2 separate regions of the Homo sapiens genome follow, and region 2 is linked to region 1. Evidence: promoter capture Hi-C in human tissues and cell types (Jung and others, 2019). All regions are on one chromosome and are shown on one strand. The core of a region is centred on a gene start or on the middle of the fragment in contact, and the rest is flanking DNA. Distances in the headings are between cores, read along the strand shown. Region 1 holds the start of FAM221A (family with sequence similarity 221 member A). Region 2 overlaps PALS2 (protein associated with LIN7 2, MAGUK p55 family member).

Region 1 (6,760 bases), core at 1,866-4,365:
CAGAAGTAAGAACCCAAAATATTATGGGAAAACATAAAGCCCCCACTATTTCTATGAAAAGAAATTAAGAGTTGGCCTCCCTGGAGGAAAAGAAAGCACGACTAAAAGAAGTTTTTCCAAAACTGAAGACATTTCTCCCTGAAAATACTCCCCTTGAAAAGTCACAAAAAGTGATGTTTGTGGAATGCTACATACTTTTTTGTGCAATACATGCTTTTTTCCATACTTTGAAGCCTTTAGCTGCGGTAGAAAATAAAAACCATTGCTCTATGTACTTGCCATTAGAAAAAAAGAAAAACCAATTTATAAGCTATGAAATAATCAAAACCGCCTTCTTTACATAAACAATCTAGATACATAATAGTAAAGAAACAAAGGGCATTTAATTCTGAGATAAATTTTGGGCCATTTCATTTTCTTGTAGCTATCAAGAATACCAACAGGTATTAAGATCTTAAGATAAATACGGATCTTTAAAAGATCTTTTAAAAGTAAGATGTCATTGGTATTTAAGTTCTAGACCAGTGCAACTCAAATTTTATTGTACTTACAGAATCCCCAGGGGATCTTGCTCAAATGCAGATTAAGACTCACAGCACAGTGGCTCATGCCTGTAATCCCAGGACTTTGGGAGGCGGAAGCAGGAGGATCACTTGAGGTCAGGAGTTCGAGCCCAGCCTGGCCAATATAGCAAAACCCTGTCTCTACCAATAATACAAAAATTAGTATTTTGGTGGGCACCTATAATCCCAACTACTCTGGAAACTGAGGCACTGAGAATCACTTCCACGGAGGCAGAGGTTACAGTGAGCTGAGATAGCGCCACTGCACTCCAGCCTGGGCAGCAGAGCAAGACTCTATCTAAAAAAAAAAATAATAATAATAATAATAATAATAATAAATATATATATACATACACACACACACACACACACACACACATGATAAAGCCAGATGTGGTGGCTCACACCTGTAATACCAGCACTTTGGGAGGCTGAGGTGGGAGGATTGCTTGAGGCCAGGATCTCAAGATGAGCCTGGGCATCCTAGTGAGATCCCATCTCTACAAAAAATTTTAAAATTAGCTGGGTGCGGAGATGCATGCCTGTAGTCCTAGCTAGTTAGGAGGCTGAGAAGAGAGAGTCGCTTCAGCTCAGGAGGTCAAGGTTGCAGTCAGCCATTATAGTGCCACTGCACTCCAGCCTGGGTGACAGAGCGAGACTCTAAATAATAATAATAATAATAGGTCTGCAGTGGGCCTGAGATTCTGCTTTTCTAACAAGCTAACAGGTGATGCCAGGACACTGGTCAGGGCCTCCCACAGTGTGAGTAACAAGGCTGCATGCTTCCCCTCCCAACCGACTCCCACCGAAGTACCTAGGCAAGAGCAAATCCAGGAAAACTCTTCGGAAGGAAAGTTTGTTTCCTTCTAAACTCATATTTTGACTCATCTTCCCACCCCACCTTCCCAGCCCACCTTTTCATATCTAGGTACTCAAGTCCTGTTTTCCCCACTTTTCTAAAATTCTGACGTCAGTAAAGGACCTGATAATCTCTTTCAGAGGGAAGTGTTGCAAGTTATTTACGATTGCAAAAATAATTTCCCAGCCGGGCGCGGTGGCCCAGGCCTGTAATCCCAACACTTTAGGAGGCCGAGGCAGGTGGATAGCTTGAGTCCAGGAGTTCAAGACCAGCCTGGGCAACGTGGTGAAATCCCGTCTCTACAGAAAATACAAAAATTAGCTGGCCGCCTGTAGTCCCAGCTACTCGGGAGGCTGAGGCAGGAGAATCACTTGAACCCAGGAAGCGGAGATTGCGGTGAGCCGAGATCGCGCCACTGCACTCCAGCCTGGGAAAGAGTCAGACCCCGTCTCAATAAAATAAATAACTAAATAATTTCTCAATAAAATAAATAACTACATACATAGGTCTGCCCTAACATGTTCGGAGCTAGGCAAGAGTCAACTGGAGGCCCACAATTCACATATCTAAATATCCAAGTTATCAGTCAACACCAGCTCCAGCAACTTGCTCCCAGGCAAAAGCTCTGGAGAACTGGAGGCTAAAGGAGCCGGCTCTGCTCTGGGAGAGGACGGGATGGTGGTTGTTCTGACCCTGAACCGGGCGTGGGAACTGACCCCATCAAGCTCCTAGCCCTTATTCTTCTGGCTCAGAATATCCAGGCAGTTCTAAGGGTTACCCAAAACTACACAAACAGGGCAGTCAGAGCAGGGGAGAACAGTCAGCTGGGGGGCCGTCTGCGCGCACACCTCTGGGTCATCTGGGCCACCCACGATGCCGCAGAGGAGCCCCTGTCGCTCGCTCCGGCCTCCCTGGCGGAGCCTGGAGCGTCTCCCCTCCGCTTGTACACACACATCCTCCCGCCCCAACTCCGCGTCCTCAGGCGGTCCTCTCCAGGACTTCCCATCCGCCCAGATTCCGGACGATCAAAAACCCCAGGAAGCGGAAAAAGAGCGCGTCGCTGCAGGTGCACCAGCCTCGGTCAGGATCCAGGACAATGAACCGCGTCCTCAGGCCAAAGGAGCGACTCCGTTTCCAGTTTCGGAAGGGGTTTCTCCAGAATACCAAACACCAGTCGGTGCCTTTCTCCTAAAACCAGCACCTCGGGGTGGGGAGCGCGTTCAGAAGTTCACGGTTGACTCAATTACTGGGTTAATTTGATGTATGCTAACTTCTATAGCCCCGAGTACTCGATGTGCCTGTTTTCAATGGCCATTTAAAAAACAGCTGGACCTCTGTATCAATCTAGAGTTAGTCATCCTTCTTGGAAGGGAGCAGAGGGGCCTCTTAAATGTTATTGGAAGACTCATCACTGCATAGAACCGCGTGGCCCTACAATATTTAATTAGGCAAAGACTAAACTGGAATTCATCTAGGCCTCCCCCAACAGCCCAGGCACAGATTCCGGGAACCCCCGCGGACGCCCGCCGGGCCCCTGCTCGCGCCCCCAGCCCAGGGATCCTGGCCCCTCGGAGCGGCGGGGGGGCAGGCCCGGAGCCACAGCCTCACCTCCGGTACTCCAGGTACTCGTCCACCGCCGCCGCGCCGCCGAGAGGCAACGTCAACCGCTCCATTGCCGGTGGGGAAGCCAAAGGCTTCCCTGCGGACCAGCTGACCTCGAAGCCCGACCCGCCCCGTTCCCTCCCGGTACCGCGCCCCCTCCCGCCCGCCTCCTGATTGGCCCGGCCTGAAGCCCGAGGAGGCCGCGCGCGGCAACTGCGCAGGACGCGCGCCCCTACTGGCTGCCGGCGCCAGGCACCAGAACCCGGATCTCCGCAAGCGCAGCCTCGCGCCACATGGAGTGCAGTTTGCCGCCCTCCACAAACCTTGCACCTATTCCCCTCTCCCTTCCCTGGACCGGCGAGTCTTCTTGTAAATTAACAAGTGACAAGGGAGTGCAGTGCCTTGCATATAACAGGCGCATAGAAAATGGCTTATTTCTTTGTACAGCTCTTTTCGCTTAATCCATCTCTTGAAATATAAGTAGTTTTGAGAAGGTTCTGCTTTAGTTTGAGGCCTGCCTCTCCTTAACTGTCGGCCTGTTTCCAGTATTGGCGTTTTCAAAAACTCTGATGTAACAATCAGTAGTCCTGGGTATCTGGGTTCACTTTGGGGGTTGCTAAAGCTACATGTTCTTCAAAGGAACCGAATAACTGATTTAAGGTGAAGCAAGTAAAAACAATTTAGGTGAAGTTTTGTTGTTGTTTTTTAACTTTTGGAAACACTCTGCAAAATATATTTAGAAGCTGAATTACCATGCGATTGGTAATTTGGCCATAATTTGACTTAGCACGTTGTGGAAAAGAATAGGAAATCTTCAGGCGAAGTCATTAAACTCTGAAGCTCCCAGGGGATCAGCTTTAGCGCCCTCTGTAAAGTATCTGGGAGGGAGAATATGCAAACAATAAGAAAAATAATTAAACTTCAGTACAGTACTTTAGTTTCAAAGTACTGTTCTACATATTTCAGGTCCATAAAACATTATGTAAACAAATTGTTTGGGTACCACCCACCTCCCTTCTCGGTACCCTTTCAACAAACCCCACCCTCTCCCCAAAGTCTTCCTCCTGTTCAGAGGCGTTCTTGACAGTCAGATAAATGAGTGATCCTGAAATCGGATTCATATTTTAGGAAACTGATCTCAGCTCAGTATTCTCTCCTATCACACGTGTGGTTTGCTGCTGTCCATTTTACCTCTTCCACCCGACACCTCCCAGATGGGGTCTTGCTCCGTCTCCAAGGCTGGAGTGCAGTGGCGGGATCTCGACTCACTGCAATCTCTGCCTCCTAGGTTCAAGCAATTCTCCTGCCTCAGCCTCCTGAGTAGCTGGGATTACAGGCACTAGCCACCACGCCTGGCTTTTGTGTGTGTGTGTGTGTGTGTATTTTTAGTAGAGACAGGGTTTCACCATGTTGGCCAGGCTGGTCTTGATCTCCTGACCTCGTGATTTGCCCGCCTCAGCCTCCCAAAGTGCTGGGATTACAGGCGTGAGCCACCACGCCCAGCCCCATTCTACCTCTATGAGAGCCTAGTCTTGCTTTTAGGCAGCAACTGAACTAACAAAGAAAAATAGAAGAAAATGCCAGGCTCTGCAGGCTTACAGAAAAGTGGCAGGGGAATGTCTGTGTAGGCAAGTACAATTTAAAAATCTAGAGGGAAATGGTTAAAATAGATTTAGCCCAATTGTGGACTCTTCCAGGAAGATGCTGGAGCAGTAAACTCTTCTGGCCAAAGAAGTCAACAAAAATATTGAGCGTGACGAATAAGAGTATGGAACAAACTAGAAAATGTTATCCTGACCTTACATAAAGCTGACAGATTTGCAAATTAAAATACTGTATATGGTACTCACCTCTGCTTTAATAAAAAGGTATAATCAAACTATAACTTCCTCCCAATGTGTAGCTAAATTGATCTAGGAAGTAGGGTGGACAGAGGAACATGTAAATTGCCTAGGCAAGTGTTAGGCATTTTATTTATTCAATCCTCATGAAAGTTTATGAGATAGGATTTGCCAGCATTTTGCTGTGATGTATAGGTTAAGAATGCTTTCTTCTGAAAATAACAGAATAATTCAACTAACAGTGGCTTAATTAAACATAAATTTTATTTTTTATTGCTTTAAAGAAGAGTGGGGGTAGGTAGTTGCTCACATTGGTTTAGAGCATTTTCCTCATGGTTGCAAGAGCTGTTACAACTCCAGAAATCATACCCAAATTCAAGAAAGGAAAAAGGAGGGCCACCAACATCATTTGTTTCTTTTATCAAAGAGTTTTCCTAGAGGCCTCTGCAAAAAAATTTTCATTTATGTCTCACATGGCCACACCTTGGTATAGAGAAAACTGGGAAAGCCAATCCAGTACTTAGTTTTCCAGGCTCTATGATGGCAATTGTCAAGGAGAGGGTTAGAAATGTGTGTTGGGGCAGGGCACGGTGGCTCATGTCTGTAATCCCAGCACTTTGGGAGGCCAAGGCAGGTGGGTCACCTGAGGTCAGGAGTACATGACCAGCCTGGCCAACATGGTGAAACACCATCTCCACTAAAAATACAAAAATTAGCCAGGTGTGGTGGCTCATGCCTGTAATTCCCGCTACTGGGGTGGCTGAGGCAGGAGAATTGCTTGAACCCAGGAGGCAGAGGTTCCAGTGAGCTGAGATGGCGCCATTGCACTCCAGCCTGGGTGATAAGAGTGAAACTCCATCTCAAAAAAAAGAAAAAAAGAAATGTGTGTTGGGTTAAAAATGTGTTTAGTTCACCAAGAAACATGGTTGGTGACAGCTTATCCTTAAACTGATTAATATCCATGCATGCCCTTCTTCCCATGCAGGCATTGCACACTAAAGGCATTCATCAGACCTCTAAGTAAGGCAGTCCCAAAATCTCAACCAGCTACTGCACCCAGCTTAAAGTCTAAGTCTCTGCAATCTTCTCTCAGTCATTCTTAATCCTGATCAGCCTGATTCTTATTGTCTTAATGGTTTGACAGTTGATAGCTACAAGACAAGAAAGATAATTATTCAGTATGTATCTCCAACAGATAACTTGTTTTTTCGTTTTTTGTTTTTTGGGTTTTTTTTTTTTTTGAGATGGAGTCTCGCTCTGTCACCAGGCTGGAGTGCAGTGGCATGATCTCAGCTCACTGCAGACTCCACCTCCTGAGTTCAAGCGATTCTCCTGCCTCAGCCTCCTGAGTAGCTGGGACTACAGACGCGCACCACCACGCCCAGCTAATTTTTGTATTTTTGGCAGAGACGGGGTTTCACCATGTCGGCCAGGATGGTCTCAATCTCTTGACCTCATGATCTGCCCGCTTCGGTCTCCCAAAGTGTTAGGATTACAGGCATGAGCTACCACGCCCGGCCAATAACTTGTTTTAAAATCCACAATGCCATTATCACACCTAACAAATTAAACAATAATTCCTTGATATCATCTAAGAATACCCAGCCTAGATATCATCTATTAGATATCATCTAATAAACCTAATTTATTAGATGATAATTAGTGTCATCTAATTTTATACTAATTAGAATTCAACCAAGGCCTATACTACCTTTGGTTTATATGCGTTTAATATATTACGAGTCTTTTGTAATTTTAGACAGTTCCCTTTCTCCTATCCCAATTTTTTGTGCCATTAATTTGTTGAAGAATTTGGATCACTTTTCCTGTAGAATATCTTTCTGAATTTGGTTGTTTACAGAAAGACATCACTTACTATGTTCTTTATCCCCTGT
Region 2 (6,760 bases), core at 2,072-4,571, 990 kb before region 1:
AAGTAGAAAAAATACAGAAAATCAGCAAAGGCAAAATTTGGTTGTCCGAAAAGATCAACAAATTGACAAATCTTTACATAGACTAAGAATAAAAGAGGGAAGACCGAAATTTCTAAAATCAGAAATGAAAGAAAAAACATTACTATGAACCCTGCAGAAATCCTGAAACTGATTTTAAAAAAAATCCAAGTTGACCTATAACAAGGAAAGAGACTGAACTAATAATCAAAACTTCCCACAAAGAAAAGCCCAGGGTCAAATGGCTTCATGGGTGAATTTCATCAAACATTGAAAGAATTATAATTAATCCTTCACATACTCTTCCCAAACAATGAAAGAGGAAAGAATACTTCACAACTCATTCTATGTGCCCTGAATTACCATATCAAAGCTAGACAATGACATCACAAGTAATGAGATGTATAGACCAATATCCCTTATAAATATAGATGCAAAAATCCTTACAAATTACAAGCAACTGAATCTAGAAGTATACAAAAAAAGACGGCACATCATAACCAAATGGAATTTACCACAAAAAGACAAGGTTGGTTCAATATATAAAAATCAATGAATGCAATACATCCTATCAATAGAAGACAATAAAAAACAAAAATCATATGAACCATTAACAAAGAAAAAGCATTTGGCAAGATCTAGTACCCTTTCTTGGTAAAAAGCCAACAAAGCAGGAACAGAAGGGAACTTCTCCAATCTGATGAAAGGCATCTATGAAAAACCCACAGCTAAAATGGAAAGATTGAATGCTTTCTCCTTTCTCCTTAAGATCATGAACAAGACAAGGATGTTCACTTTTGCCACTTCTATTACACTATTACACATTACACTGCAGGTTCTAGTTGAGGAAAGTAGACAAGACAACGACATAAACAGCACCCAGATTGGAAAGAAACAAGTAAAACGATCTCTATTTGCAGATGACATGATTTTGTATATAGAAAATCCTGAGGAACCCACACAAAAAAATCATCATTAGAATCAATGAGGTCAATAAGGCTAAAAGACAAAGCCAACACACAAAAATCAGTTTATTTCTGTACACTAGCAAGGAACAATCCAAAAAGGAAATTAAGAAAATACTTTTTGCTACAGAATAAAAAAGAAAAAAATACTCAGGAATAAATGTGACAAAAGCAGCATAATATTTGTACAATGAAAACCATAAACAGCATTAAAATGAAAACCTAAATAAACAGAGAGACATCTATGCTCATAGACTGGAAGAATTAATACTGTTAATATAGCACCTGTAATCCCAGCACTTTGGGAGGCTAAGGCAGGCAGATCACCTGAGGTCAGGAGTTCGAAACCAGCCTGGCCAACATGGTGAAAGCAAGTCTCTACTAAAAATACAAAAAAAATTAGCCAGGCAGGATGGTGGGTGCCTGTAATCCCAGCTACTGGGGAGGCTGAGGCAGGAGAATGGCTTGAATCCAGGAGGTGGAGGCTGCAGTGAGCCGAGATCATGCCATTGCACTCCAGCCTGGGCAACAGAGCAAGACTCCATCTCAACAAAACAAAACAAAACAAAACAAAACAAAACAAAACAAAACAAAACAGATGGCAGTAGTCCTCAAGGCCAAGTTACTGGCATTTCTATATAAATTATAAGATAAGCTTCCAATTGCTGCAGAAAAGGTAGCTAGAATTCAATATAATCCCTCTTAAAATTCTAGCTACCTTTTCTGCAGAAACTGGAAGCTTATCTTATAATTTATATAGAAATGTCAGGAACCCAGAAGAGCCAAAACAAGCTGAAAAAGAAAGAACAAGTTGGGTTCACAATTCCTGGTTTTGAAACTTAATACAAATATACAGTAATCGAGACAATGTGGGACTGGCATAAGGACAGACATCTAGGTTAATGGAACAGAACTGAGGGTTTATAAATAAATCTTGACATTTACAATCAATTGATTTTCAAAAAGGGTGGCAAGACAATCCACTGGAGGAAAGAACTATTCTTTTTGACAAATTGTGTTGTGACAACTGGATAAGTGCAAGCAAAAGAATAAAGTTGGAACCCCCTCCTCACATTTGACACAAAAATGAACACAAAATTGATCATATAATCTGCATGTAAGAGTCAGTAGTATAAACTCTTAAAATAAAATACAGGAGTAAAATTTTGTGGCCTTGGGTTAGGGAAAGCCTTGATATGGTACCATACTTGATACGATATGAAAAGCATGAGCAACAAAAGACATATAAATTTGGACTTCATCAAAATGAAAAACTTTTGTATATCAAAGGACACCATCAAAAACACGAGAAGTCAACAAAGAATGAGAGAAAATATTAATACGTGCAAATCATATCTAACAAGGAACCTGTACCCAGAATATAATATGACCTCCTCTTACAGCTTAAGAAAAGGACAAATAACCTAACTGAAAAATGGGCAACCAGTTTGAACAGACATTCCTCCAAAGAAAATATATAAATGGCAAATATGTACATGAAAAGTTGTTTGACATGATCAGACATTAGGGAAATGCAAATGAGAACCAAAATGAGATACAACTTTACACCCACTAGGATGACTACAATCAAAAAGCCAGATGACAAATGTTGGTGAGGATGTAGAGAAACTGGAAACTTCATATGCTGCTGGGATTGTGAAGGGTATATACACAGCTGCTGTGGAAAACAGTGTGGAAGTTCTTCTAAAGGCTAAACATACAGTCATCATATAACCTACAAATTCCATTCCAAGGTATATACCCAAGAGAAACAGGCATATGTCCACACAAATACCTGTATACAAATGCTGAGTGTAGCATTATTCACAATAGCTAAAAATAAAACAGTCCAAATGTCCATCAACTGATGAATATATAAATAAAATGTGGTATAGCCATATAATAATCACTTAGCAAGGAAAAGAAAATAAGTACTGATAAATGCTACAATGCAGATGAGATCTGACATGTTAAGAAGCCAGTCACAAAACACCACATATTGTATAACTCCAGTATATAAAATGTCCAAAATAAGCAAATCTATTTTGACAGAAAGATTCATGATTGCTCCTGGCAGCAGGGGGTGAGGAAGTTGGTGGGAAATGGGTACAGAGATTCTTTTGGCGATGATGAAGACGTTGTAACAGCTTTTGAATTTTACAATCCAGAATTCTATTCTCTGCTAATTAGTCAAATAAAGGGCAGAAAATATACATTTTAAAACACAAAGATGCAGACATTACATTCCACATACAAGAGGATGTACCCCAGCAAAACAAGGTGATAAACCAAGAAAGAGAAAGAATGGGATCCAGGAACAACAGCTTCAACCCAGGATAACAACAAAGGGAACTACTCCAGTGTTAACAGCTGGGCAGCCAGAGAGACAGCATGTAGTCCTCATTGAAGCAGAAAGACAGAGGGTTCTGAGACAGAGGTCTCCAGGAAAAAAAAAAAGAACCTGACTTACTGGATAAACAAGTCTTTAGTTTAAAAAACAACAAAAAACTGTATACACATATATATATAAAATCAGGTAGTATAAAGAAAAACAGAACTCCAGAGATTCCTGGGTCACAGAAGGGGAAAGGGCTGTTCAAGAAAGTGAAATTGAACTAACTGAAAATACAGCTATCTTTATATTGGAAGGACAGTCAGGAAGTCAACAGATAAGGCCTAAACTGCATAAAGCAGGAAACAGCAGACTAAAGACATTATTAAGAAATATGGAACACAACCAAAAGAAATAGCAAAAACAATGAAAAGTGACTGTTTTTCATAAGTGAGGCAGGGGAAGAGAAGGGGTTATTTTTTTCCCCATTATATGTCTTTAAGAACTACTTGCTAAAAATATTGGGCACATATGAATTTGATAAAAGCGAAAAACTTTTTACTTCACAAGTGCAGCTTTAACATACGTTGATTACAGTGAAGTTTTTGTTCTGTTAACCACTTTAGTAGGATTTGTCTAAATTTAGTGATTTACAATGCCTGCAGTAGAATCAGAAGATTTACACTGAAGGGATTATAAGTAGCACAGGGGGGCAATGACAAGGCTATTTCCCTAACTTTTAAGAATTTTAGCAATAAGAGTACTCACTGAGAATTAAACCCAAAATATACTGGACAAAACCAGGGAAACTCTAAAATTCAATTAAAAGAGATAGGGTTAAAGTTAGCCTAGGATTTGACTCAAAATAGCTTAAAGGCATTAATATACCTAAAGGAATGCCATGTTAAAAGGGGGCTTGGTCAGAAATAGAAGCACAGCAATGGGAATGAAAGCAATGTTAGCTTATCTCCTGCTTTCTTCAAGGGAGAGAACATCTAAGTTCACAAGTAAAGATCCACGTATTTCAAAAACAAAGACAAATGTTTATTAGTCCCTACAGTCAGAGACAAATGTGTATTAGTCATTACAGTAAATCACTAACATCATCCAATTCCTTGATCTAATTCCATTCTCATCAAGCATACTTCTGACATGATTATTTAACTTTCTATGTAAATATGCAAATAGAGAAATGAATGCAAAGACCATAAAATGAGTGCTTGGTTCACTTAATGGTTATACTTCTCATCAGTACTATTTTATTCTATACATCAGACTCTGTAACCTTAATGAATGCTGCCTGCAGTAAAAGATGAATCACTCTTATGTGCTATCAAAAATCAGGTTTATGACCTTGCATGACTGAGAGCTACAAGCCAGGCCACGTAAGTTCACACAGCTGTTGCCACACTGGGTATGTCCAAGGGTCAGAAGCTTTCCCCTTTTCTTTACACTAAAATGGCTGAAAAATCCAACTTTTTAGATAGACATCAGTACAAGAAAATCCTAAATGCCTATCTTGCCACGAGTCTTAAATGTAGGCATTTAATTCTAACATTTCTGAACTGAATAGTTTAGAGAAGCACTTGCCACCAGACAGCAAGCCAACAGCACTGCAGCACTATTTCAAGACAGCTACAGAATTACTAAATTTTTCAATGTCTTTTACTTGTTCACTTTCACTGCCATAAAGAAAACTTATTTGGGAATAACAATAACTAATGATAATAATCCCCCTTTCCTCCATATGCCCATACTCTTTCCTGCCAATTGCATAGCAAGGAAAACACAGAAAACTTACATGGCACCGTAGTTCCAAATCTAGTGGGATTCAATACTATGAACCTGTTTTTCAAGCTTCTTCGGCCTACACCTTGAGCTCCTATCAATACTAATGTTTTTCTCTGGAAGGGAGGCATTTTGGCTACCTCCTCATATATCTGGATTTCATGACGATCAAATTCTAAATGAAAAAGGAAATGGGAATACAAAGTCAACTTTTATATACATGAAAGAAATCTCTGCAATTCTGTCTAGTAATGGCTTAGCTGTCTTGATAGTTAAATATCACTTGACTTGTACCCACTTAGCATAGATTTGTTTTTACAAATTTGGTAAAGTACAATAAATAATAATTATTTTATTATTGTTTTTAAGACCGGGGCTCACTGTCACCCAGGGTAGAGTATAGTGGTGCAATCTTAGCTCACTGTACCCTTGAACTCCTGGGCTCAATGAAGCCTCCCGAGTAAATGAAACCACAGGTATGAGCCATTATACCCAGCTAATTTTTAATTTTTTTTTTTGTAGAGATGGGATCTTGCTATGTTGCCCAGGCTGGTCTCAAACTGCTGGCCTCAAATGATCCTGCTGCCTCAGTCTCCCAAAGTGCTGGGATTATAGGCATGAGCCACTGTGCCTGCCCCAGTAAATTATTTTATATCTTGCTTTAAACATCTGGTTCCATCCATTTGCCCTTAAAAATTTGTCTAATCGGGCTGGGCATGGTGGCTCATGCCTGTAATCCCAGCACTTTCGCAGGCCGAGGTGGGCGAATCACGAGGTCAAGAGATTGAGACCATCCTGGCCAACATGGTGAAACCTCGTCTCTACTAAAAAAATACAAAAAATTAGCTAGGCGTGGTGGTGTGCGCCTGTAGTCCCAGCTACTCAGGGGGCTGAGGCAGGGGAATCACTTGAACCCAGGAAGCAGAGACTGCAGTAAGACGAGATTGCGCCACTGCACTCCAGCCTGGTGACAGAGCAAGACTCCGTCTCAAAAAAAAAAAAAAAAAAAAAAAAAATTTATCTAATCAAGCTAGAAAAATTCTATGTTTTATCCTTACTTATCAGAGATTCTATCCACTGAAACTTATTATCAATTTGCCAGTAAAAATCCTTTAATATAAATAATCAAATTACAAACCAGTATATATAGAAAGCATGTAGCAAATACGGAGGACAGGAGTAAACCTAGCGTGGTTGCTTAAGTAAGTTCCACAGAACAAGTGACCTTCCAATTATATAAATGAATAAATATTGTATGGCAAATCAACAATTATCAGTTTGATTAGAATTCAACATACTGACATTTACTGACAACATACATTTAAATATTAAGATTTTGAAATTTACATATAAAATAAATTTTAGATCCAACTGTTTCACTAGAAACATAACCCAAAATTATAATCTTAGTCGATGGGAAAATTACAAATTTTCTATTTTGCAAAAAAGCCTTATGGGCATATATTTTATGAATAATAGGGCCAAAGTGATGATTTGAAATATTATATTACCTGTTATTACTGTAACTCTCAATCTGTAGTAATAACACTCCTTCCTTAGCTTATTATCCTAATAGTAACTCTTTCTTTGCACAATTTCCCCACAGTAGATTAAACCAATATTAAGAGAAAGCAAGCCTACTTCTTCCTTCTATATT

Evidence for each region. The method cuts DNA at HindIII sites, captures the fragments that hold promoters and counts their contacts. A contact is called where the count stands out against the background at its distance.
Region 2: a contact is called between a fragment that was not itself captured here and the fragment with the promoter of FAM221A in region 1, in 1 of the 25 tissues and cell types used here (H1 embryonic stem cells).

The regions. Positions count from the first base shown.
Region 1 is chr7:23,676,554-23,683,313 of GRCh38, reverse strand. FAM221A (family with sequence similarity 221 member A) reads right to left here and starts at 3,115. Exons shown (of 7, transcript NM_199136.5): 1 at 3,031-3,115. The coding sequence starts at 3,095. RefSeq lists an enhancer at 2,312-2,561 and a silencer at 2,892-3,181. The HindIII fragment of the contact is 14,044 bases long and covers 1-6,760 here.
Region 2 is chr7:24,667,017-24,673,776 of GRCh38, reverse strand. It overlaps PALS2 (protein associated with LIN7 2, MAGUK p55 family member), which reads right to left. Exons shown (of 12, transcript NM_001303037.2): 9 at 5,117-5,278. Among named protein-coding and RNA genes, the nearest start is that of GSDME, 87 kb to the left of the region's middle. The HindIII fragment of the contact is 3,281 bases long and covers 1,681-4,961 here.